Regions from separate parts of the Homo sapiens genome. Here regions 2, 3 and 4 are each linked to region 1. Evidence: promoter capture Hi-C in 16 types of primary human blood cells and fetal thymus (Javierre and others, 2016). All regions are on one chromosome and are shown on one strand. The core of a region is centred on a gene start or on the middle of the fragment in contact, and the rest is flanking DNA. Distances in the headings are between cores, read along the strand shown. Region 1 holds the start of MRTFA-AS1 (MRTFA antisense RNA 1). Region 2 overlaps XPNPEP3 (X-prolyl aminopeptidase 3). Region 3 overlaps SLC25A17 (solute carrier family 25 member 17). Region 4 overlaps SLC25A17 (solute carrier family 25 member 17).

Region 1 (6,233 bases), core at 1,347-3,846:
TTGCTTTTGTTGGGTAAGAATAATCTGATTTGTTGTAGGCATAAAATGGTGGTGTTAGTATACAATGTTTTAATTATTTTTTTGTGTAGCTTTTATTTTTGAGCCAGGGTCTCACTCTGCTGCCCAGGGTGGAGTGCAGTGGCATAATCACAGCTCATTGCAGGCTGGACCTCCCCAGGCTCAGGTGGTCCTCCCACCACAGATTCCTGAGTAGCTGGGACTGCAAGTGCACATCACTAGGCCCAGCTAAAAAAATTTTTTTTAATGAGAGACAGGTTTTCACTATGTTGCCCAGCCTGTTTTAATTTTTTGAAAGTGCATTTCTGCAATATATTTTGCTCATTGACTATAGGGTGTGAAAATTGTCCTTAACAATTCATGATGCTGTATCTTTCTGATTTTCTGTTTTTCTGTTTTTCCTTGCAAATAGGATCTTGAGGAACTAAAATATTAATTAAACTTGATTTTTTGAACTGTTTTCTTAGTATATTCTCTTGGGAATCGATAAGATTATATTCCTCAAATCAGTGCCATAAGACTAATTTATTTGGTTATGTAAAGTACTGAAAACTTAGGTATCAACATTAATTAGGTTACTCAAACAGATACTATGTCCGTATTCTTCTAATACCTTGCTACTCAAAGTATGTTCCAAGGTCTGGCAGCCTTTGTATCACCTGGAAGCCTATTAGGAATGCAGAATCTCAGACGCCACCTCAGACCTGCGGAATCACAATCTGTTTTAAAAAGATTATTTGCCGGGTGCAGTGGCTCACAGCTGTAATCCCAACACTTTGGGAGGCCAGGGTGGGCAGATTGCTTGATGTCAGAAGTTTGAGACCAGCCTAGGCAACATGGTGAAACCTCATCTCTACAAAAAATGCAAAAATTAGGCAGGCATGGTGATACACACCTGTAGTCCCAGATACTTAGGGGGCTGAAGTGGGAGGCTCACTTGAATTTGGGAGGTCAAGGCTGCAGTGAACCGTGTTTGCACCACGGTATTCCAGCTGGGCCACAAAGTGAGACCCTATCTCAAAAAAAAGATTGTCACATGCATATTAAAGTTGAGAAGTTCAGTTCCAAAAGATATTTTATTTTTATTTCCCAAGATGCTATGAGATGTGTTGGATTTATATGTGGGATTTATATGATGTCTAATTAGTATGGAAGAATAGGGTAAAACAGGAAACAAAAAAGAAAACCTGCTCCTGGTATAGTTCTCTGTGTTAGATAAACGTTCACAATTTGACAACTTTTTTTTTTTTTTGCCATTTTTCTTCATTTTTCAAAGAAAGAACAAATAGGCTTATTTTTGGCATTCTAGAATGTTTAACTGGGAAGGATCTTAGACATGACCTGATAACAAACCTTGGTTTTACAGGTGAACAGACGGGGGGCTAAGAATGTTAAGTGACTTACCCAAGATCATATAGCGTGGACTCCCTGTGACCTGATTTTCAAACTACTGATCTTTGGAACTCCTGTGCTACCCCTCTGTGTTGCTGAAGGCCATCTATTCTTAGTTGGTTCTATTGATGTTGGTTGAAACCATCCCGAACATACCTGTGGCTAGGCACAGTGGCTCACGTCTGTAATCCCAGCACTTTGGGAGGTTGAGGGGGGCGGATCACTTCAGGTCAGGAGTTGGAGTCCAGCCTGGCCAACATGATGAAACCCCATCTCTGCTAAAAATACAAAAATTAGCAAGGCATGGTGGTGCACACCTGTGACTCTAGCTACTCGGGAGGCGGAGGCAGGAGAATTGCTTGAACCCTGGAGGCAGAGGTTGCAGTGAATTGAGACCACACCACTGCACTCCAGCCTGGGTGACAGAGTGAGACCCTGCCTCAAAACAAAACAAAACAACCATCCTGCACAATTATGAGTGAGAGTAAATCCAACACATCTCACAGCATCTTGGGAAAATGATAAGGCTCACTTTCTTCTTTCCCTTCAGTGTGAACTCATGTAATAACTTCAGAGAAAGGCATTTCCCTGCTGTCTGGAAGTTGAACTCCTTCTACAAACTGGTGGAGCTTGCTGCCCAGTCCTGTGCCCTCCGAGCTGAGGGGAAGGCGTGGGGATTTTCTGTTCTACTGAAATGGCAGGATTATGTCATAGCAGTGGTTTTGAGTGTTTAGAGGTAGTGTTATTTTAATTATTTTTCTAACTCTGGTTTAAATAAAAACTTACAAATCAGGAAAGAACTGGCTATCTGTATGTTAAAAAAATTAAGAGAGGGCTGGGTGCAGTGTCTCACGCCTGTAATCCCAACACTTTGGGAGGCCGAGGTGGGTGGATCACGAAGTCAGGAGATCGAGACCATCCTGGCCAACCAACATGGTGAAACCCCGTCTCTACTAAAAATACAAAAATTAGCTGGGCGTGGTGGCGTGCGCCTGTAATCCCAGCTACGCAGGAGGCTGAGGCAGGAGAATCGCTTGAACCTGGGAGGCGGAGGTTGCAGTGAACCGAGATTGTGCCAGTGCACTCCAGCCTGGCCAACAGAACAAGACTCCGTCTTAAAAAAAAAAAAAGGAGAGAGAGAGAGGGAACATTGACTCTTACCTTGTACCATCCCAAAAATTCATTTGAGGCCGGGTGTGGTGGCTCATGCCTGTAATCCCAGCCCTTTGTGAGGTCAAGGTGGGTGGATCGCTTGCGATCAGGAGTTGGAGACCAGCCTGGCCAACATGGTAAAACCCTATCTATACTAAAATACAAAAATTGGCCAGGCGTGGTAGCGGGCACACATAGTCCCAGCTACTTGGGAAGCTGAGGCAGGAGAATTGCTTGAACCCAGGAGGCAGAGGTTGCAGTGAGCCAAGATTGCACCCCTGCATTCCAGCCTGGGTGACAGAGTGAGACTCTGTCTCATAATTAATTAATTAATTAATTAATTCAGGCTGTGGGATACTGCTCAGCAACTTTTAAAAAGGGGCAAACTTTAAACGTTTTAGAAATAAAACACCCTGAATGACTCTTGAGAATTACTCTGAGTGAAAAAAGCCAATCCTAAAATGTTACCTATTGTATGATTCTATTTATATAACATTCTTGAAATGACAAAATTATAGATATGAAGCACAGATTGGTTCTTCATATTGTCAGGGCCTGTGGATGGTGTGGGGCTGAAAGTAGATGTGGCTATAAAAGGTCAACATGAGGGATCCTCAGGGTGATGGAAATGTGTATGTTGACTAACAGTGCCAGTATTCTGGTTGTAATATTGTACTGTAGTTTTGCAAGATGTTATCATTGGAGGGAACTGAGTAAAGGATACATGAGCTCTTTGTATTATTTATTATGTGAATCTATAATTATCTCAGAATGAAAAGTTTATACATGAGCTGTTTATTATTTCTTATTATGTGAATCTATAATTATCTCAGAATGAAAAGTTTAAAAACTACAATTTGGCAGCTTTTCAAAAAGTTAAACATAGATCCTGTGACCTAGCAATTCTACTTCTAGATATATATCCTAGAAAACTGAAAACATTTGTCTGTGTATTTTTACACAGACAAATGTTCATAGCAGCTTTTTCAAAATAGCTAAAAAGTGGAAACAACCCACATGTCTTTCAGTTGATGAATAAACAAAATATGGTATATCCATACAATGGAATATTATTCACTCATAAAAAGAAATCACTGTTGATATATGTTATAAAATGAATGAACCTTGGCCTTGTGTGGTGGCTTATGCCTATAATCCCAGTACTTTGGGAGGCCAAGGCAGGTGGATCGCTTGAGCCCAGGAGTTTGAGACCAGCCTGGGCAACATGGCGAAACCTATGTCTACTAAAAATACAGAAAAATTAGCCAGGCTGGTGGCATGTGCCTATAGTCTCAGCTACTCGGGAGGCTGAGGCACAACAGTCGCTTGAACCTGGGAGATGGAGGTTGCAGTGAACGGGGATCAAGCCACTTGCACTCTAGCCTGGGTGACAGAACGAGACTCGTCTTAAAAAAAAAAATGATGAACCTTAAAAACATTTTCCAAATGAAAGGACATAGACATAAAAGGCCACATATTGTGTGATTCCATTTAAATGAAATGTCCAGAACAGGAAATGGAGAGTGACTGCTGATGGATACAGGGTTTATTTTTGGGGCAATGAAAATGTTCTGGAATTAGTTGCGATAAACTATGGAATTATGCACTTTGAATGGTTGAATTTTATAGTATGTGAATTGTATCTCAATTTTTTAAATTGTGTGAGGAAAAAAATTCAGGTTTCTCTAGAGTGACAGCAGATCAGTGATTGCCTGGGGCTGGAAGTGGAAGGAGAAATTGAATACAAAGGGACACAAGAAAACCCTAGGGATGAAAATATATCTCTTTATTGTCGTGGTTATACAGGCATATGCAATTGTCAGAACGCTTTGAATTGTACACTAGGTGAAGTTTATTGTGTCTGAATTGAAGTTCAATAAAGTTAGTTTTTAAAACTTATAATAAAATTATCTCTAGTTGTTGTAAGCTTAAAATGACCTTTAGGTTAAAATTATCTTATCTCTTATTAATTATAAGGCCAACAACTATTGCAAAAATTACCTCATAGAGTCTGACTTCCGTTGCTAGTTTCTATCCAGTTTCCAAAGTGAAACTAGATTGATCACTTTCACTCAGACTTTGCTCTTAGGCGTTTGTACTAGCCTGACTCCATTATTGTGCTTTTCAGAACCCATGAGTGGGTGTGATTGTTATAACATTTTTTTTAAGTTTATGGAACATTCTATTGCTTTTATTTCTTTTTTGCTTTTATGTACAACAGAAAAATGTCTCAAATTGGGTATAACAAATCAGCGTGATTGCCTTTCACCTCCACTTTGGAGTGCTTTGAGCCAGTTTGGACACAAGGAGGTTGGAGTTAAAATGACTCCTGAAGGAAGTAAGCAAGCATGAGAAGAGAGGGCAGCACTGGTAGGTAACGCTAAAACAACATCGCCTTCATCTCTCAACCCTGATCTCTTTCCAAGAAGTGAGCTGACTAAATGAAATATTACACAAAACCCTCCAAGGTTTGAGAAGAGTTCTAGAGGGTAGTCTCTAAGTGAGAAGGACCATCTCTATAGGTGGCCCTGAGTTTTATCCTCAAATTTCCTTCTACGCCATGTACCCATCCTCACTCATTTTTCGGGTCCCACCAAGCCTAAACTCAGGGGTAGTTTTCCATTTAAAATTCTGCCTCACAGGTGGACACATCTTTTTTATTGTTTCCCTTAAGCACAGATTAGACTAACTTTATTAAAAGAGATCATGCAGGAGCATCCCTTGAGACCGGGAGGCAGAGGTTGCGGTGAGCCAAGATCCTGCCACTACACTCTGGCTTGGGCAACAGAGTGAGACCCTGCTTCAAAAAAAAAAAACCCCAAAAACAAAACCACCACCACCACCACCAAAAGCCTCCAAAACAAAAATCACGAAAACATAAAAGAGACATATGTCTAGAATATCGAATTCTAAGTGGATTTTGTAAGAATTCCAGCAAAAATAAATATATTTAAAATGATAATAGCTAACACTTAGAGTTTACAGTGCATGAAGAGGAAAGACAGACACTGGTTTTTTTTTTTTTTTTTTTTTTTTTTGGAGACAGAGTCTCACTCTGTCGCCCAGGCTGGAGTGCAGTGGCATGATCTTGGCTCACTGCAACCTACGCATCCTGGGTTCACGCCATTCTCCTTCCTCAGCTTCCTGAGAAGCCGGGACTACAGGTGCCCGCCACCACACCCAGCTAATTTTTTTTGTATTTTTAGTAGAGACGGGGTTTCACCTTGTTAGCCAGGATGATCTCGATCTTCTGACTTTGTGATCCGCCCACCTCGGCCTCCCAAAGTGCTGGCATTACAGGCGTGAGCCACCGTGCCTGGCCTGTTTTGTTTTTTTCTGTACTCTACTACTCCTTTCAACACTCCACCTCTGATGACATCAGATGTGTAGGTTTTGTTTTTTTTTTTCCCTCACCAACAACCAATTCTCCAACCATCTGGTCACCAACTGGATATTCTACAATTTAACTCAATTATGACATTAATTCCCTGGAGTTAGTGCAGACCCCCACAGGTTAAGGGCTCAGGCCCACAAGATTTCCCTGAACTTCAGATGCCGATCGATAGTGGTGGGTCCTCAGGTTATCCACAACTTCTGTCTGAGTTGGCTACAAATCAGAGGTTTCCACAAGCCTCTCCTCAGGTTGGATCATTTGCTAGAACGACTCACAG
Region 2 (6,233 bases), core at 1,474-3,973, 350 kb before region 1:
CTTAAGTCATCAGGCATCTCATGCACCTAGCTAAATGAGTACCCACTAGGTTAGTGGTGTATGTGAGAAACGCCCGGGGAGCTCTTCAAAACACATGTTCCGGTTGGGTATGGTGGCTCATGCCTATAATTCCAGCACTTTGGGGGGCCAAGGTGGTAGAATTGCTTGAGTCCAGGAGTTCAAGACCAGCCTGGGCAACATAGTGAGACCTTATCTCTATAAAAAATATAAAAATTAGCTGGGCATGATGGTGCATGCCTGTAGTCCCAGCTATTCAGGAGGTTGAGACAGGAAGATTGTTTGACCCCCGGAGGTCAAGACTCCAGTGAGCCATGATCTCGGCACTGTACTCCAACCTTGGAAACAGAGTGAGACCCTGTCTCAAAAAAAACAAAAACAAAAACACATGTTCTAAGCCCTCCCTTTGAGATTCTCATTCAACAACTCTATTTATAGAGTCCTAGCACGTATGTATATTTTGAAAAAGCTTACCCAACAGTCTAGGCAGGTTCAAACCACTTCCAATTTCTGTTATTTCTTGATTCCTTTTAATTTTTTAAATTCTTCTGAGATAGGGTAACACTCTGTCACCCAGGCTAGAGTGCAGTGGCGCAATCATGGCTCACTACGGCCTTGACCTCCTGGTCTCAAGCATCATTTTATTTATTTTTTATTTTTCTTCCTAACTCCCCAAAGTTGTTATCAAGCATCATTTTAATCTTTTAAATAGTATAAAAATCTTACCACCACCAAAATAAGCTTTGTCTTTTAGATATTATTAAAATCAACCATATTTAACAAGTTTTAAAAATAAAATGCATCCCTTGCTCAAGAGACGGCTACAATTAAACTATCACTGAAAGATGGGCAGCTGATTTTGAAACTCTTAAGGGAAAAAGATTTGGGGATTATTATCTATAACCCACTCTAGAATCAATCATTTCATCATTTTAAATATTATATTCACTGTAACTGTACTGTCTCTGCCATTATATTTATTTATTTATTTTATTTCTATTTTATTTTATTTTTGAGACGGTCTTGCTCGGTTGCCTAGGCTGAAGTGGAGTGGCACAATCTCAGCTGACTGCAGCCTTGACTTCCCAGGCTCAAACAATCCTCCTACTTCAGCTTCCCAAAGTGCTGGGATTATAGGCGTAGCTAGGACTACAGACATCTGTCAACACACTCAGCTAATTTTGCTTACTTTTTTGCAGAGATAAGGTCTCACTACGTTGCCCAGGCCTCCCAAAGTGCTGGGATTATAGGCGTGAGCCACCGCACCTGGCTTCTGCCATTATAGTTGACGATAGAGATGAAACGGTAAATGGTGAAAGCATCGTCTTATATTTCATGCCACACAGTTGCATTCTGATTATTTCCCTAAAAATCTGTTTGCTGCTGTAGTTGAAAACCAAGAAGTGGGCCAGGCATGGTGGCTCACGCATGTAATCCCAGCACTTTGGGAGGCCAAGGCAGGCAGATCACAAGGTCAGGAGTTCAAAACCAGCCTGACCAATATGGTGAAACCCCCTCTCTACTAAAAATACAAAAATTAGCCAGGTGTGGTGGCGCACACGTGTAGTCCCAGCTACTCTGGAGGCTGAGGCAGGAGAATTGCTTGAATCTGGGAGGCGGAGGTTGCAGTGAGCCGGATCACGCCACTGCACTCCAGCCTGGGCGACAGAGCGAGACTCTGTCTCAAAAAAAAAAAAAAAAAAAAAAAAAGAAAAAGAAAAAGAAAAAGAAAACAACCATGAAGTGGTTCTACATATGTCAGACAAGTTATTCTGACAAGCCCAACTCCCTGAGTAGCCCTTTTTAAACCTAGCATTCCAAACTATACCACATATTCTAAAACTAATTTTAAGAATGTAAAAATTTTAGAAATAATGCTTCATTAGGAATTCCACTGATTCTTCCCGTTCATTCTCTGATATGTTTCAGTGTTTTTTTGAGATGAATGTCTTGCTGTCCTGCTAATGACAACATTACTCCTTTGGCAATAATCAGGGAACCATGGAAGCATCTTTCTTGTACAGATAATATAATATAATCTGTACAATCTGTAAATATCGCTGGGTGTGGTGGCTCACACCTGTAATCCCAGCACTTTGGGAGGCTGAGGCGGGTGGATCACCTGAGGTCAGGAGTTCGAGACTAGCCTGGCCAACATGGTGAAACCCCATTTCTACTAAAAATACAAAAATTAGCCGGATGTGGTAGCAGGCGCCTGTAATCCCAGCTACTTGGGAGGCTGAGGCAGCAGAACTGCTTTAACCCGGGAGGCAGAGGTTGCAGTGAGCAGAGATTGTGTCATTGCACTCCAGCCTGGGCGACAAGAGCGAAATTCCGTCTCAAAAAAAAAAAAAAGTAGACTCACAGTTCAGAATGCCACTTGCCTTCCTACATGGAATCATTTTCATGTCTGAGTGTCAAGTGTGAGACAAGGTAGTAATCAAAGAGACTGACCAACATTTTCCATCTCTACCGATACAGACCTTAGCACAGAGATGGCACTGTCATAAAAAGCAGAAATGGTCTACAGTGCTCAGATTTCTCTAAGGAAATGACAAGTTTTGAAAATCACTAGAACCTAGCCGTAAAATCACAGAACCTAGCACAGCCAGAACAGAATTTCTTTATTTCCTGTATCATCCTGCTAAATATTTTCCAAGCTATTGATGCTTCAGGAAACTTGGATAGGTAGGTATGGCAAAGAAAAATCTAGGAAAAATAGCTCCCAAGAATTCAGAGGAACTGGCCCAGTAATTTCACTTTTGTTTTTGTTTTTGAGACAAAGTCTCACTCTGTTGCCCAAGCTGGAGTGCAATGGCGTGATCTCAGCTCACTGCAACCTCTGCCTCCCAGGTTCAAGTGATTCTCCTGCCTCAGCCTCCTGAATAGCTGGGACTACAGGCATGCGCCACCATGCCCAGCTAATTTTTCTATTTTTAGTAGAGACGGGATTTCACTATGTTGGCCAGGCTGGTCTCGAACTCCTGACCTCGTGATCCATCCACCTCAGCCTCCCAAAGTGCTGGGATTACAGGTGTGAGCCACCGCGCCTGGCCCCAGTAATTTCACTTCTAAGAATTTAAGGAAATAATAGAGCAATATGCAAAGAATGTGTACACATGTACACTTATACACACATACACCTATGTAAGAAATAGGACTAAAAAGAAACATATACCAAAATCCTCTCAACAGTGGCTTTCTCTGAGTTGTGGGATTATTAGTAATTAAAAAAAAAATCTATGCTTACCTGTATTCTCTTTTTCTGTATGTATAGAACTTGCGTAATAATTAGGAAAGGCATTGAGATGTTTCCCAAAAGTATTAAGTACATACTGCCATGTATTAGAGAAATATGCAAAACATGAAACCTTTTGGAGAAACCAAGTGCACATTACATAATTTTATATCCTAAACTAACAAGCCAACTGCGTAAGAGACTTTTTTTGAGAGAGAGAGACACGGTCTCATTCTGTCACCCAAGATGGAGTGCAGAGGCATGATCACAGCTCACTGCATCCTTGACCTCCTGGGCTCATGCAATCCTCCCACCTGAGTCCCCCGAGTAGCTGAGACTATAGGCAGGAGCACTAATTTTTTTTATTTCTTATAGAGACAGGGTCTTGCTATGTTGCCTATGCTCGTCTCGAACTCCTAACCTCAAGTGATCCTCTCATCTTGTCTTTCCAAAGTGTTGGGATTATAGGCGTGAGCCACTGTACCTGGCCTAAGAGACTTTTTAAGTATTACATGCCTTTAAATTTTTTTTCCTTTTTTTTTGAGACAGAGTCTCCCTCTGTCCCCCAAGCTGGAGTGCAGTGGCACAATTCTGGCTCACTGCAACCTCCGCCTCCCAGATTCAGGTGATTCTCCTGCCTCAGCCTCCCCAGTAGCTGAGATTATAGGCATATGCCACCACACCCGGCTAATTTTTTTTTTGGGGGGTATTTTTAGTAGAGACAGGATTTCACCATATTGGTTAGGCTGGTCTCAAACTCCTGGCCTCAGGTGATCCACCCACCTTGGCCTCCCAAAGTTCTGGGATTACATGTATGAGCCACTGCGCCCGGCCCCTTTTAATTTTTCTTAAAAATTTACTCTGCTTCACCCTACAATCACTTTAACACTTCCACAAGTTTTGCATCTCTGGAAGGAGAAACACAAATGATTAATTCTTTTGATACTTTTGTCTGCAGAAAAATCTGTACCTAATGGTACATCTGATAGTTTGAGGTTTAAAATACTAATAATTCTGTTTTAAAATTCCATCTACTTCCATCCCTTCTCACTTACCCCAATGTCCAAAATCCCACGTCTAGGAGAGTAAAATTAGGACAGGCATCCCTTTTCCCCCAGATATTCACATACATATGTATGTGAACATATACGTGTACATATTTATTTACATTCACTTATACTTAACATGCACTTAAGGTATAGAGCAAAAAAATCTAGATACAGAGGCCATTATCTTGACAATATAATTACTAGGTTTAAGGCCTGGAAAATGCAGCTTACCATGTAAAAATATCTCACCACAAGAAATCAGTAATTTTCAAAGCTGGTAAAACTATCAATTCTACTTAAAAAAATAACTCGAGTCTACAGGTAGGTTGATAGGGTAGATAAATACTAAAATTAATACCAACTGGGTTGCTATTAAGCTTACCTTACAGCTTTGAAAAACTCTGATTTCTTGTGGGTTTCAGTGGTGAGCTGCATTTCCTTAGTTTCAGCCGACTTCCCAGCAGGAATTCGAGTCTGATGAAAAATCAGCAAAAGGAAGCCCTCACTGAGAAACATACTGGTATCATTCACTGAGTGGGGATAGTGAAAAAGGAACATATTTCTAAAGGTAAATTTCCATTAGTAATATATATGCTTATATGGCAAATACATATTTAATTTCTTATGGCAGAAAGAACAATTAATTTTCCTTGAAAACCTGATTGCTTTTTCTACAATGTGTTTGCTTTTACCCTACCTTCCTCTCTGAGATATTCATTAGTCATAGTTCACCCCTTAAGTGCAAGAAATCAAAACAAAAAACCTTTAGGTCTAAATTTGAGCAATAGTTATAAGACATCTTCTGGCAGCAACGCTGGGATCTTATAGCAGAAAAAAAAATTAGTAAAACAAACCTTTATCATTTTTTTGCATCACCTTTATCAACTGGGATACTACCTCTCAAATCTGTGACAAACAAATCTGGAAATCTTGCTTAATCTATATAGAAATAGGTTATAATTTTAAAGTAAATATTTGATAATTTCAAGAAAAAACATGTTTTCTAAAATGTCTTTAACACAGTAATTCACAATAGTATACAATTCTAAAAGCTGACTTAGAAATAGAACTTTGCTTTAAAAACATCCTGAAATACATACCTTTCATTAATTATTCTGAATTATAAGGTCTATCATATTTAAACCTTGTTCTAGACTAGTATTGTCAATAAAGCACCAGTACCCACATGTAGTTAAGCTTAAATTTAAATTAATTAAAATTAAATAAAATAAAAAGTTCAGCTCCTCAGCTGTACTAGCAACCTTATTAGTGTAAAATGGCCATGTGAGGTTAGTGGCTACCTTATGGAACAGCACAGATCCAGAGCTTACTGCAAGAAGTTCTATTGCATAGCATTGCTCTAGACAGAACCTAAATGGGGAGATAGCACAGTTAAAAGGCCTTACCTGGTCTGAGGAGGTGTGGGTGTGTAAAGGGGCTGGGCTGGCCTAAGTATCGGTTTGGAATCCTCCTTTCTGGGACAGGCTGAAGGGAGTACCTTCGCTGTGAACACAACATACATCCTGAATGAAGAATAAAGAGAATGAAATGAAACAATAGATCTAGAAAGTCTTCATGGTATAAATACACTTATCTCTAGCAGTTTAGATGCTTTAGAAAAATGCAAACTAATATTTCCTTCCTTCTCTCCTTCAATATTCATTTATTTTTTTTTTAAGACAGAGTCTCACTCTGTCACCCAGGCTGGAGTCAGTGGCATGATCTCGGCTCACTGCAACCTCCACCTCCTGGGTTCAAGTGATTCTCCTGCCTCAAGCCTCCTACATAGCTGGGATTACAGGTGCGTGCCACCATGTCTGGCTAATTTTTGTAGAGACGGGGTTTAATCCTGTTGGCCAGGCTGGTCTCGAACTCTTGACCTCAAGTGATCCGCCCACCTCGGCCTCCCAAAGTGTTGGGATTACAGG
Region 3 (6,233 bases), core at 2,240-4,739, 290 kb before region 1:
GGTCCGCATCTTTGCCGTGGGAAGTTTAAGGTCAGGCTACCACCGCACACTCACACACTTTGCTTTACTGGCCCGGAGGAGAACGTAGGTGTGAAGCCGTGTTGCTTAGTCACATGCTTCCCTACAGCCTGTCTTCACGCTTGCCGCGGGCAAGTGGCAATACCTAGTAGGATAGCTCTGGGCACCGTTATTGGCAGGAGAAGATAGATCCTTTTTTTTTTTTTTTTTTTTCCGGACAGGGTCTTGCTCTGTTGCCCAAGCTGGAGTGCAGTGGCGCGATCACGACTCACTGCAGCCTCGATCTCCCGGGCTCCAGCGATCCGCCCACCTCAGCTTCCTGAGTAGCTGGGACTGCAGGTGTGAGCCACCACACCCGGCTACATTTTTAAAAAAAATTTTTGGGGTCTGGCAGTGTTGCCCAGGCTGGTCTCGAATTCCTGGCCTCAAACGATCCTCTCGATTTGGCGTCCTAAACTGCTGGCATGAGCCACTGTGCCTGGCTTTTTTTTCTTTCTTTCTAAATCAAGATCTGGGTTCCTGTCTACCACAAGTGTGGTTTGTTATGAGGTATACGCTTGATTCTTGGGCTTCTGGTGTCTAGGTTCCACTTGACACTTCCCCTCTCCCCTCTTTTCCTTAAAACTTTCCACTTTTGGCTTGGGTGACTCCTCTTGTGGTTCTTTTATCTCTTTGACTGCCTTTTCTCATATTCTTCACCAGTTGTTAGCACACACCTTTAGCTGTTAAAATCACTGTGACTTCAGAGGAACATCACTGAATCCTCTGTTTAGCCTCCAGAAACTTCACTGAGAGCTCACCTTCTCTGTAGACTAATCTGGATTTAACCCTAACTCCATCATTTGTTAGCTAGATGCCCTGTAAACCTTACTTTCTTAATCTGTAAAGTGGGGGAAGTGATACCTACCTCACAGAGTTTAGAGAATTAAGTGACACAGCATTTCATGAAAATGCCTAATTCAGGAAGCCTGGTTCATTCAGTTCAGCCAGAAGAGCCTTTCAGCCAGCATGAAGGCTGAGATGGACGCTTGCGTGACTTGCTTTAAGATGGGCATGGAGGCCTGTGTTTCCGGAGTGGAGGGAACAAAGAGGCAAATAGGTTTCAGGGGGCCAAATTGTGTGAGACTTTCACTCTGGCTAGCTGTTGAACTTGCTGATTTACCTTTAAACGTGATCACCCTGGCTGCTGTGTTGAGAGTAGAATGTAAGGGAACAGGGGACAAGCAATTATCAGGCGAGAGATGATGGTGACTTGGATCCGGGTGGTAGCAGACATGGTAGAAGTGATCATTGACCTGGAATATATTTATAAAATGAGGGTTGGTTGACTCCAAGAGTTTTTGGCTTCAGTAACTGGAGGGATGGTGGTATTTACTGGGATGGCAGAGGCTGTGAAGGAGAAGGTTTTGGGGGAAATGATAAATTTGGCTTTGGTTTTGGAGGAGTTTGAAATGCCTAAGAGTAGTCGTGAGACTAGATGAGCTCACTAGGGAAGTGTGTATGGACTGACAGAAGAATCTCAATGACTGAGTCTTGGAGCAGGCTAACCATTAAGAGGCCGAGAAAATAAGATTGCACCAGCAAAGGAGACAAACGAAGGATGGATCAGTACTGCAGGAGGGAAGCTAAGAACTAAGAGTGAAAGCCACGTGAAGAAAGTGTTTCTGGGGAAGGAAGTAGACCAGCTGGGTCAGATGCTGCTGATGGGTCAAGTAAGGTGAGGACTGAGAAATAACTGAGAATTTATCATGTTGATAAATCCAGTGGTTAATTGAAAAGACCAGTTTTGGTGGAGTGGTGGGGGAAATAGTTGGAGTGCATCTAAGAGAAGAAAGTGAGAAGATGGGAAATGTTTTTCTCTTCCTTCTTGCAATAAATGTTCATTAAACACCTTTATTGAGTGCATTCTATGTGCCACACGCTGTTCTAGGTGCAAGGAGTACAGTAGAGAAGGTCTTTTTCTTCATGAACTATGCATTGCAATAGGGGAGTCAGACAATAAATGAATAGGCTGGGTGCGGTGGCTCACGCCTGTAATCCCAGCACTTTGGGAGGCTGAGGCAGGCGGATCGCCTGAGGTCAGGAGTTCGAGGCCAGCCTGGCTAACATGGTGAAACCCCGTCTCTACTAAAAATACAAAAAGTAGCCAGGCATGGTGGTGGGCGCCTGTAATCCCAGCTACTCGGGAGGCTGAAGCAGGAGAATCACTTGAACCTGGGAGGCAGAGGTTGCAGTGAGCCAAAATTGTGCCATTGCACTCCAGCCTGGGTGACAAGAGCAAGACTCCGTCTCAAGAAAAAAAAAAAAAAACAATAAAAAATAAATGAATAAATAAAAAATAAGTAGAATAATTTTAGATACAGTTAAGTGCTATAAAAGAACATAGAGATTGGCAAACTTTTTAAAGAGAGCAGATGGGAAATATTTTAGGCTTTGTGTACCGTTGTCACAGCTACCCAACATTGCCATGGTCGTGTGAAATCAGCTGTAGACAGTAAATGAATGGACAGAGCTGTGTTCCAATAAAATACTGTTTTCAAAAACAGATATTAGATTGGATTTGGCCCATAGGCCATAGTTTTCTGACTCCTGCTATAGAGAGAGTGACTGGCAATAGTGGTAATATATTTCTATTTAATCTACAAAGATACTTCTTTTTTTCACTTGTTGCCTATTTTTCTCTTTTTTTCTTTTTCTTTCTTTCTTTCTTTTTTTTTTTTTGAGATGGAGTTTCGCTCTTGTTGCCCAGGCTGGAGTGCATGGAGTGCAGTGATGCAATCTCGGCCCACCACAACCTCCGCCTCCTGGGTTCAAGCGATTCTCCTGCCTCAGCCTCTCGCCGAGTGGCTGGGTTTACAGGCATGTGCCACCACGCCTGGCTAATTTTGTATTTTCAGTAGAGACGGGGTTTCTCCATGTTGGTCAGCCTGGTCTTGAGCTCCCGCCCTCAGGTGATCCGCCTGCCTTGGCCTCCCAAAGTGCTGGGATTACAGGCGTGAGCCACTGCGCCTGGCCTGGAATTACTTTTCTAACTTTGTTTATGCCTGAATCAAAAACGATTAATGAAATTATATCGTCATACATAGTATTGTATAACTTAATTTTTTAAGAAGCAAATATGGCATAATAGCTGAAAAAAAAGGTTCTGTAGTAAAGCTTAACTATGAATGCCATCATCAATCGAACTATAAAACAGGGACAATAACAATGCCTCACTTAACTGGGTTCTTGTGGGAAGTAAATGTGATTATATTTGTGGAGCATCTAGCATAATGGAACGTTGTAGTAAGACCATAATTATTCATTTCTGTCTCAAGTATATTCTTGCAAATACAGCACTTATACCTAGTTTTAGAAATTTAAGGGAATTGAAATGTTCTCTTGCCTCATGGCCATCTCCACCCATTCCCTTCACTTGTTGCAGATGATCTTACCTTTTACTCTCTAGATAAAATAGAACCTACTTGGGATGAGTTTTTTCAGTTTTTTCCAATTACAGTTGTACTCGTGTTTTCTACATTCTGCTGGTCTCAGAGGAAAAATAGACATATTCAGTGTCTGCTACCTTCAATCTTTGTCCTCCCCTCCAGCCCATGGCCAGTTTTCTTCCAGGACTTTGCTCCAGTAATTTTCATCTCTTTCCTATAGCTTTAACCTAGTATCTGCTTCTGTTCAGCCCTCAAACATGGTCAGGTCTGTCCCATCAGAAAACTATACCAATCTGATCTGGAATCTGGTAGCTTCTTCAGCCTCTGCCTGTTCTCTTTCCCTTTGTGCTAAGCTTATTTAAAGAATATTCTGGGCCGGGTGTGGTGGCTCACACCTGTAATCCCAGCACTTTGGGAGGCTGAGGCGGGCAGATCACGAGGTCAGGAGATCGAGACCATCCTGACTAACACGGTGAAACCCCATCTCTACTAAAAATACAAAATATTAGCCGGGCATGGAGGCAGGCGCCTGTAGTCCCAGCTACTCGGGAGGCTGAGGCAGGAGAACGGCATGAACCCGGGAGGTGGAGCTTGCAGTGAGCCAAGATTGCGCCACTGCACTCCAGCCTGGACGACAGAGCAAGACTCCGTCTCAAAAACAAAAAAAACCAAAACAAAACAAAACAACAACAACAACAACAATATATATATATATATATATATATATATATATATATTCTGCACGTACTGCCTTTCCTCATCCTACTTTGACCACTGGAACTGTTCTTCCAAAGGTCAACTCTGACTTCCTAACAGCTTAATCTACTATTGTGAATGGTTTAAGGTCATGGATAACCAGGTACACACACATTTGTGTCTTTTCACAATGTCAGACTTTTATTGTGTTATTTCAGTTATAAAAGACAAGTTACATGGAGTTCTCAAGGAGGCAATTTTTATTAGTACTTCTCATTCACTAGGTAGTCAGTCAATATTGTAAATCATATATAATAGTATACCTAATTAATACATAAATGATGTAGATTAAACATTCTGCAACAAAGTAACATTGAACATCAAGAGAAAAGGGTGAGGAAAAAGGGTTACCTAACCAGTCCGGGGAGAGTGATATAGACAAGTATCCTGGTTTCATCATGGCAGTGTGTTGGTCTTGTAAGAAAGAATCCTTGATGTGGGCAGAGCCTTTGGACACAGATATCAGGCTTTTATAACAAGTGACAGCAAGACAGTGTCTGTTAAGACCATTTTGAGTTTTTTAAGTCCTGTTCTTTTTATGGTCACAGAGTCTTCTGGTAAGGACTGATAGTGGAAGAGCATGCTTGGTTGTGTCTTTATCTGGAAAAACATCTGGTCCCTGTTGTCAAAGTGCTTTTTGAAATGAAAGATAGGAGTCTTTTTCTAAGATGGAGTTACTTATGTCAAGAGTGCTCTATACATCTACTGACTGTTTTTGCATTCTTAATTGATTCCAGTTCTTTGTAAGTATTCTATACTGTTGACCCTTCTACCTTTCTGAAGCTCCTTCTGAAAGAGCAGTTGGTGTTTATTTTTTACTAAATAGCAATTGCTCTTTTGGAAGGAACTTGAGAAGACATTACTCCTTTTAGGGCCCTAAAATTAACAGTGGTTTCTACTACTAACAGATACTATAGCTATAAAGGACATGTAGAAACCAACAATTGTTGAGTGCCACCTGTGTGCCTGGTATGATGCTAGGTGCCAACCATAATTTTTTGTTTTTGTTTTTGAAACTCAGTCTCGCTCTGTCGCCCAGGCTGGAGTGCAGTGGCGTGATCTCGGCTCACTGCAAGCTCCGCCTCCTGGGTTCACGCCATTCTCCTGCCTCAGCCTTCCGAGTAGCTGGGACTACAGGTGTCTGCCACCACACCCGGCTAATCTTTTTGTATTTTTAATAGAGAGGGTATTTTTTTTTTATACAGAGTCTCGCTCTGTCACCCAGGCTGGAGTGCGGTGGCACGATCTCGGCTTACTGCAACCTCTGCCTCCCAGGTTCAAGTGATTCTCCTGCCACATCCTCCAGAGTACCTGGGACTACAGGTGTGTGCCACCACTCCTGGCTCATTTTTGTATTTTTAGTAGAGATGAGGTCTCACCGTGTTGGCCAGGCTGGTCTCGAACTCCTGACCTCAAGTGATCCACCCACCTCAGCCTCCCAAAGTGCTGGGATTGCAGGTGTGAGCCACCATGCCCAGCTACTTTCCATAATTTGATTCTAACTTCTCATAGCAACCTTGACAAATACCGGTCTCAAAATTACAAATGAGGAAATTGAGACATAGAGATTTGAAGTTACTTATGTAATATATACTATACTTGGGACGTAAACCTATATTTTATCCCTAAACACTCGAGAGTGTCATCCATGAGGCCATTTGTGTAACTTGCCTATCTGTCTGTGTATGTATGAGTTAGCTTGATTGTTATGTCAGGGAAAAGACTTACATTAACTCTGATGAGGTGAATAACATTTTTAAATATGAAAGCCATTGTAAGTGGCTTTTAATCTTTAGAATTTTATTAGCTCAAACCACAGAAAACATCTTAGGTGGTTTTTAAAAATTTTTTTAAATTTTTATTTGTTTTGAGACTAAGTCTCACTGTGTTTCCCAGGCTGGAGTGCTGTGGGATGATCACAGCTCACTGCAGCCTCAATCTCCTGAGCTCAAGCCATTCTCCCACCTCCTAAAGTGCTGGGATTGCAGGTGTGAGCCACCGTGTCTGGCTTTAAAATAATCTTTCTGTTCT
Region 4 (6,233 bases), core at 2,212-4,711, 260 kb before region 1:
GGCATGGTGGCATGCACTTGTAGTCCTAGCTATTCAGGAGTCATTCAGAGTGAGACCCTGTCTCTTAGAAAAAAATTTTAAAAAGTGAATGAGATCATGTCATTTCTCTGTTCAGAGCCTTCCAGTTGCTTCCCATCTCACTCAGAGGAAAAGCCAAAGTCCTTACCTTGTCCTGCAAAGCCTGTTTAACCCGGCCATCCTATTCTCTTTACTTACACTGCTGCAGCCACCCTGACTTCTTCATCCTAAACACTCCTGGCACGTGTCTGCCTGTGTACCTGCTATGACCTCTGCCTGGTAACCATGTGGATAACTCCTTTGCCTCCTTTTAGGTTTTTCCCAAATGGCCACTGTTAAATGATAAACTTTAGACAAATTATGTTTAACAGAGCTTTTTTTGTTTGTTTTTTGAGAAGGAGTCTCACTCTGTCACCCGGGCTGGAGTGCAGTGGCGCGATCTCCGCTCACTGCAACCTCCGCCTCCCAGGTTCAAGAGATTTTCCTGTCTCAGCCTCCCAAGTAGCTGGGACTACAGGCGCAAGCCATCATGCCCAGCTAATTTTTGTATTTTTAGTAGAGACGGGGTTTCACTCTGTTGGCCAGGCTGATCTCGAACTCCTGACCTAAGGTGATCCACCTGCGTCAGCCTCCTAAAGTGTTGGGATTACAGGCGTGAGCCACCATGCCTGGCCTAACAGAGTTTGATCAAGCAAAGAACAATTCGCAAATTGGGCAGCCCTCAGAACCAGAAGGTCAGAGTGACTCTGGAGCTGTCACATGGTAGAATATTTATGGACAGAAAAAGGAAAGTGACATATAGAAGTCAGAAGTGAGGTACAGAAACAGCCAGATTAGTTACCACTTGTTTACCTTATTTGAACAGTTGGCTGCCTGTGATTGGCTGAAACTCTATGATTGGCACAAGATCCAGGTAGGTTATAGTTCACTATATACTGAGAAACCTTCAAGGTTATTTTTTTTCCTTTTCTTTTTTTTTTTTTTTTTTTTTGTTGTTGTTGAGATAGGGTCTTGCTCTGTCATCCGGGCACTGGAGTACAGTGGTGCAGTCATAGTTCACTGCAGCCTCCAACTCCTGGGCTCAAGAGATCCCCCTGCCTCGGCCTCCCCAGTAGCTAGGACTACAGGGATGCCACCACACCCAGCTAATTTTTTTTTATTTTTTGTACAGATGGGGGTCTTTCTGTGTTGCCCAGGCTGGTTTCAAACCCCTGGCCTCAAGAGATTCTTCTGCCTCGACCTTCCAAAGTGCTAGGATTACAGGTATTAGCCACTGCTCCCAGCTGAATATTTATTTTAAAAAATAAAAAGAATATTTATTTTTATTGATATTAAATCTACCTTCTTAAAGCAACTAGAAACAAAGATGAAACTTAGTACATATGTTTTCTCCCCCTGCAAACGTATGAGTTAGCAATTCCAAAGTGACTTTTTGTATACTTTAGGATAAGTAAATATATTGTGATCCTGGCCTAGTTCGCTTGGACAATAAAGAAAAAGTATATACCCTTTCCCACAAGCCATTTATTCATCATGGTTTGTTCATCAAATATATATTGGGTGTCTAGTATGTGCTAAATCCAGTTCTAGATGCTAAGGATATGGCAGTAAATAAAAAATGAAAATCTCTGTCCTCATGAAGCTTACAATCTAATATTGTAAGATAGACAATAAACAAGGAAAATACATAGTATGTTAGAGGATAAGGTTACAGACAAAATTTAAGCAGAGAAGGGATAGAGAGTACTGAGGGTTAGAAAGAGGTACCATTGGCCGGGCGCGGTGGCTCATGCCTGTAATCCCAACACTTTGAGAGGCCGAGGCAGGTGGATTACCGAGGTCAGGAGTTTGAGACCAACCTGGCCAACATGGCGAAACCCCCTGTCTACTAAAAATACAAAAATTAACTGGGTGTGGTAGCGGGCACCTATCATCCCAGCTACTTGGGAGGCTGAGGTAGGAGAATCACTTGAACCCAGGAGGCGGAGGTTGCAGTGAGCGGAGATCGAGCCACTGCACTCCAGCCTGGGAGATAGAGCGAGACTCCATCTCCAAAAAAGAAAAAAAGAGGTACCATTTTAGATAGTATGGTGTTAAGTCAAGTTAAAGCTGTCTCTACATATTTTAACTTCAGTGCTGGGAATGGTAAAAAATTAAAAATAAATTAGCCGGCATGTGCCTGTAATCCCAGCTACTTGGGAGGCTAAGGAGGGAGGATCACTTAAGCCCAGGAGTAGGAGGCTGCAGCAAGACCATGTCTCAAAAAAACAAAATAAAATAAAATAAATAATTGTAACAGCTAATGGAATAAAACAGGTGTGAAAGTGAATTCCTGTGTTTTGAAATTGTAAAGAATAAAAGGAATAATCACTTGGTGATTGGATTAGATTAGTGGTTCTCCACTGAGGCTGATTTTGACCCACAGGGTCAAATGTGGCATCTAGTGGGTAGAGGCCAGGGAGACTGCTAATCATCCTACACAAGAGCCCACATACACACACAACAAATAATTTTCCACCCCAAAATATTAGTACTGTCACAGTTGGGAGACTCTGGGTTAAAGAATTTTACAATCCTTTGTTAATTGTGAGATTCTCTGATTGTAGGTCTTCTCTTTTTCTGAAGGTTGAGAGTTCCTTGAAAATTACTTTTGTGAGTTTTAAACTTCTCTTCATAACAAGTTTTTATATCTTAATATGTACATATTTTTATAATAATTATAACAGCTTTCTTCCTGCTGTGAGTATTATAATCACTGTAGAAATGAGTTGTATCATCTCTAAGGAGAACTAGGAACAGCGTTGTTGCTCTTCAAATTCTTCTTGAAACTTAGAAATTTATTATTTATTGTATTTTCCCAGAAAAACAAGCCTATAAAGCTTCATATCTTGGGGAATAATGTGGGAACAGAACCTTAACAGATAAATGAAGAGACACTTATTTTTATGAAATTGGAATTTTTAGCAATAACTCTTACTGAATGCCAAAGGTATTATCATTGTTGTGATAGTTCAAAATGTATTTCCTGCCCTCTGGCCTTAAATCTGGCAAGACAGGTTTGTTCCTGTTGTGTGTAAAGTTTCATTCCTTCCTACGGAGTCAAGTGAGATTTGTTAGATTTGTGCCTTTGTTTTGCCATTTTCTTATATCCATGGTCATTGCACATATTTTCCAGAAGTGCATACCCAATTAGCCTACTTCGTTTGTGTTTTCTCTCCGTAACAAAGGAGACTCACTGCTGATAAAACTAATTGTTTTCAAGATTTCAGGAGTAAATAGCTGTGTTCTAATTGTTCCTTGATTTAGTGAATAATTTTAGTGTGTTCAATTACTGTTATTCATCTCTTAATTTTGGTTTATTCTTTCTTGTAAATGATTTGTTACATAAAAGAAAGAAAGAAAATAGAATTATAGACATTAGAATTAGAAAAAAAACAGTCTTCTGCCCTTTGGTAGGTAAAGTATTAATTTGTATTTCTACTTTAGAGCGGAAGTAGCATCCACAGCTTGGAACTGGCGGAAGAGTTGTTGTTGTTGTTGTTGTTGTTGTTGTTTTGAGATGGGGTCTCGCTCTGACACCCGGGCTGGAGTGCAGTAGTGCGATCTCGGCTCACTGCAACCTCCACCTTCTGGGTTCAAGCGATTCTCCTTCCTCAGCCTCCTGAGTAGCTGGGACTACAGGCGCCCGCCACCGTGCCTGGCTAATTTTTGTATTCTTAGTAGAAACAGGGTTTCGCCGTGTTGGCCAGGCTGGTCTCTAACTCCTGACCTTGTGATCCACCCGCCTCAGCCTCCCAAAGTGCTGGGATTCCAGGCGTGAGCAACCGCACCCGGCCGGAACTGGCAGAAGAGTTACACGGGCTTACAAAAAAGCAGACAATTTTCTTTATCCTTTGGGCCTGTCAGGAGTTGGAATTGGTACTCACGAATGGTTTGTGGCATGCTTCTCTCAGTGGAATGCTGACCTTTGCTTGATGATATAGGTTGCAAGTTTTAGTAAAGCTTCGGATTCTCAAGTATTTTGAGTAGCTTCTCTCAGAACTCATAAAATTATACTGGTTAAAAAATACTCCTCCATCTATTTTGGCTTAGAGAGTGAAAAAAAGTACTTGAACTTCTCAGATAAAAAGCTTTGAAATACCAAATGTTCTTACAAGGACTTTATAATCTGTTATTTAAGTAATGTGGTACATTTTTGTACTTGAGGTTGTCCTTGAGAAGAATCCTTTTAGGCCGGGTGCGGTGGCTCACACCTGTAATCCCAGCACTTTGAGAGGCCGAGGCGGGCGGATCACGAGGTCAGGAGATCGAGACCATCCTGGCTAACACGGTGAAACCCCGTCTCTACTAAAAATACAAAAAATTAGTCGGGCGCAGTGGCGGGCGCCTGTAGTCCTGGCTACTCGGGAGGCTGAGGCAGGAGAATGGTGTGAGCCGGGGAGGCGGAGCTTGCAGTGAGCCGAGATAGAACCACTGCACTCCGGCCTGGGCGAAAGAGCGAGACTCCGTCTCAAAAAAAAAAAAAAGAATCCTTTTAGTCTTTCTGCTTGTGTTAATAATGGGGATATGAAAGCAGATTTTTTTTTCTTTTTTCTTTTTTTAATAAGAAAAGGTCTCACTCTGTTGCCCAGCTCTGGAGTGCAGTGGCATGATCACAGCTCACTGCAGCCTCAACCTCCTGGGCTGAAGCGATCTTCCCACTTCAGCCTCTTGAGTAGCTGGAACCACAGGAGTGTGCCACCCTGCCTGGCTAATTTTTAATATTTTTTTTAGAGATGGAGTCTCCCTCTTTTGCCCAGGCTGCTATTGAACTCCTAGGCTCAAGTGATCCTCCCATATCAGCCTCTCAAAGTGCTAAGATTACAGGCATGAGCCACCACACTGGGCATGAAAGCAGAATTTTAAAGAATGGTTAGATCTTAATCTTAGCTGCATTGCCTCCTAAGTGTTTTTGTATGTGCCTACCTCTTAAATGAAGAAAATTTTTATTTCTGAAGAATTTATTTAACAGGCAACATATTTCACTTGTTTAGAAAGGTGGGTGCACTATACCTTTCTACGGTATCTGTGGAAGCTTGTGATCTCTGGTCCTGAGCTCTCCTGTCCTCCTTTTCTCTTAAAACAAATGCAGTAGACTGCTCAATAGCACTTTCTAGTCTGATTTTTCTGGCTGTTGGTTTTTCTCTGTTAAGTGAAGTGTGCATTGCATTGAATAGGAATACATTCTAAAATCTAGGCAAACAGGAATGTGTTAATATCCCTCTATACTGGCCTCTGGGGCATGGGTGCTTTTGAAAAAATGAGACTAGGAAGAATCTGTAACTAAGGGTTTTTTAGATTATAGGCAATGCCTCCAGTGACAATGTATGAGCCTTTTAAGTTATAACTAAAGATGACTCCTTAATGTTATGTGAATCTATAAAAATATAACAAATACGACTGATAAAATTATTAGGTGATGCCTTTTATTTTGAGAAATGTGCTCTTATAATGCTCCTTAGAGATAGGCAGCAAAATATCTTTAACAACTGTATGCAACTAATGAAAAAATTGAATTTGAATCTCTTGGCTGTTTTGTCAAGTTTATCCTTGGTTAGACTGTATTTCCTATATATAATATTTTGAGATACCTTAAATCAAAACTTTATTTCTTCAATTATCTTTAAATGGATTTTAGTAAAAGACTTCTCTTCCTTAGGATTTTTTCTCTTGGTTCTTCAGATCTTGACTAGAGCCAGACAGTTGGATGTGTGCTTTTTTACTGAGTTTGTTCATTGCTTCATTTGTTCCACTATTTATTTAACAAATGTTTATAAAGTATATACCATGTGTCAGGCACATTGTTACAATTCTATCTGGTATTTTTTTTTAATCATTTCAGGACTGGTGAGGAATATTTTAATATCTCAAGATGGTGTTAAATTGGGATCATATGTTTTCAAAAAAGAAGCACCTGGCTCATTGTATTGTTCTACTCTGAGGCAACCTTGGGGGGCCAAGATCCCCATCCTTAAGCTTGTAAGGATCATGATGCTTGTGAAGCTGTTTCAGGTGTTTTGTGACACTTACCTGATGCTTGCTGCCTGCCTATCCTAATGCTCTCAGCAAGGAGGAACTCTTCAGCGAGCTTCTAGTCTCTGTTAAGGCACTTTTAAATGTCACCACCTTTCCCCCTCCTGTCACTCATTGTACCATATCCATACTCACTTCAAACC

Evidence for each region. The method cuts DNA at HindIII sites, captures the fragments that hold promoters and counts their contacts. A CHiCAGO score of 5 or more calls a contact.
Region 2: a contact is called between a fragment that was not itself captured here and the fragment with the promoter of MRTFA-AS1 in region 1, in 3 of 17 cell types (endothelial precursors, megakaryocytes and erythroblasts). The highest score is 6.5, in endothelial precursors.
Region 3: a contact is called between a fragment that was not itself captured here and the fragment with the promoter of MRTFA-AS1 in region 1, in 3 of 17 cell types (endothelial precursors, erythroblasts and megakaryocytes). The highest score is 5.3, in endothelial precursors.
Region 4: a fragment that was not itself captured here is called in contact with the fragment with the promoter of MRTFA-AS1 in region 1 in 1 of 17 cell types (endothelial precursors); the score reaches 5.2 in endothelial precursors.

The regions. Positions count from the first base shown.
Region 1 is chr22:40,518,163-40,524,395 of GRCh38, reverse strand. MRTFA-AS1 (MRTFA antisense RNA 1) reads right to left here and starts at 2,596. Exons shown (of 4, transcript NR_109965.1): 1 at 1,423-2,596; 2 at 956-1,030; 3 at 678-871. The region is part of intron 3 of MRTFA (myocardin related transcription factor A); the gene reads left to right. The HindIII fragment of the contact is 4,880 bases long and covers 1-4,491 here.
Region 2 is chr22:40,868,594-40,874,826 of GRCh38, reverse strand. XPNPEP3 (X-prolyl aminopeptidase 3) reads right to left here. Exons shown (of 10, transcript NM_022098.4): 2 at 5,712-5,828. Among named protein-coding and RNA genes, the nearest start is that of DNAJB7, 9.6 kb to the right of the region's middle. The HindIII fragment of the contact is 3,923 bases long and covers 762-4,684 here.
Region 3 is chr22:40,812,705-40,818,937 of GRCh38, reverse strand. The region is part of intron 1 of SLC25A17 (solute carrier family 25 member 17); the gene reads left to right. MIR4766 (microRNA 4766) reads left to right here and starts at 4,980; the gene lies at 4,980-5,055. RefSeq lists an enhancer at 1,560-1,619. The HindIII fragment of the contact is 625 bases long and covers 3,177-3,801 here.
Region 4 is chr22:40,779,561-40,785,793 of GRCh38, reverse strand. All of the region lies in intron 4 of SLC25A17 (solute carrier family 25 member 17), which reads left to right. Among named protein-coding and RNA genes, the nearest start is that of MIR4766, 31 kb to the left of the region's middle. RefSeq lists an enhancer at 3,230-3,729. The HindIII fragment of the contact is 1,123 bases long and covers 2,900-4,022 here.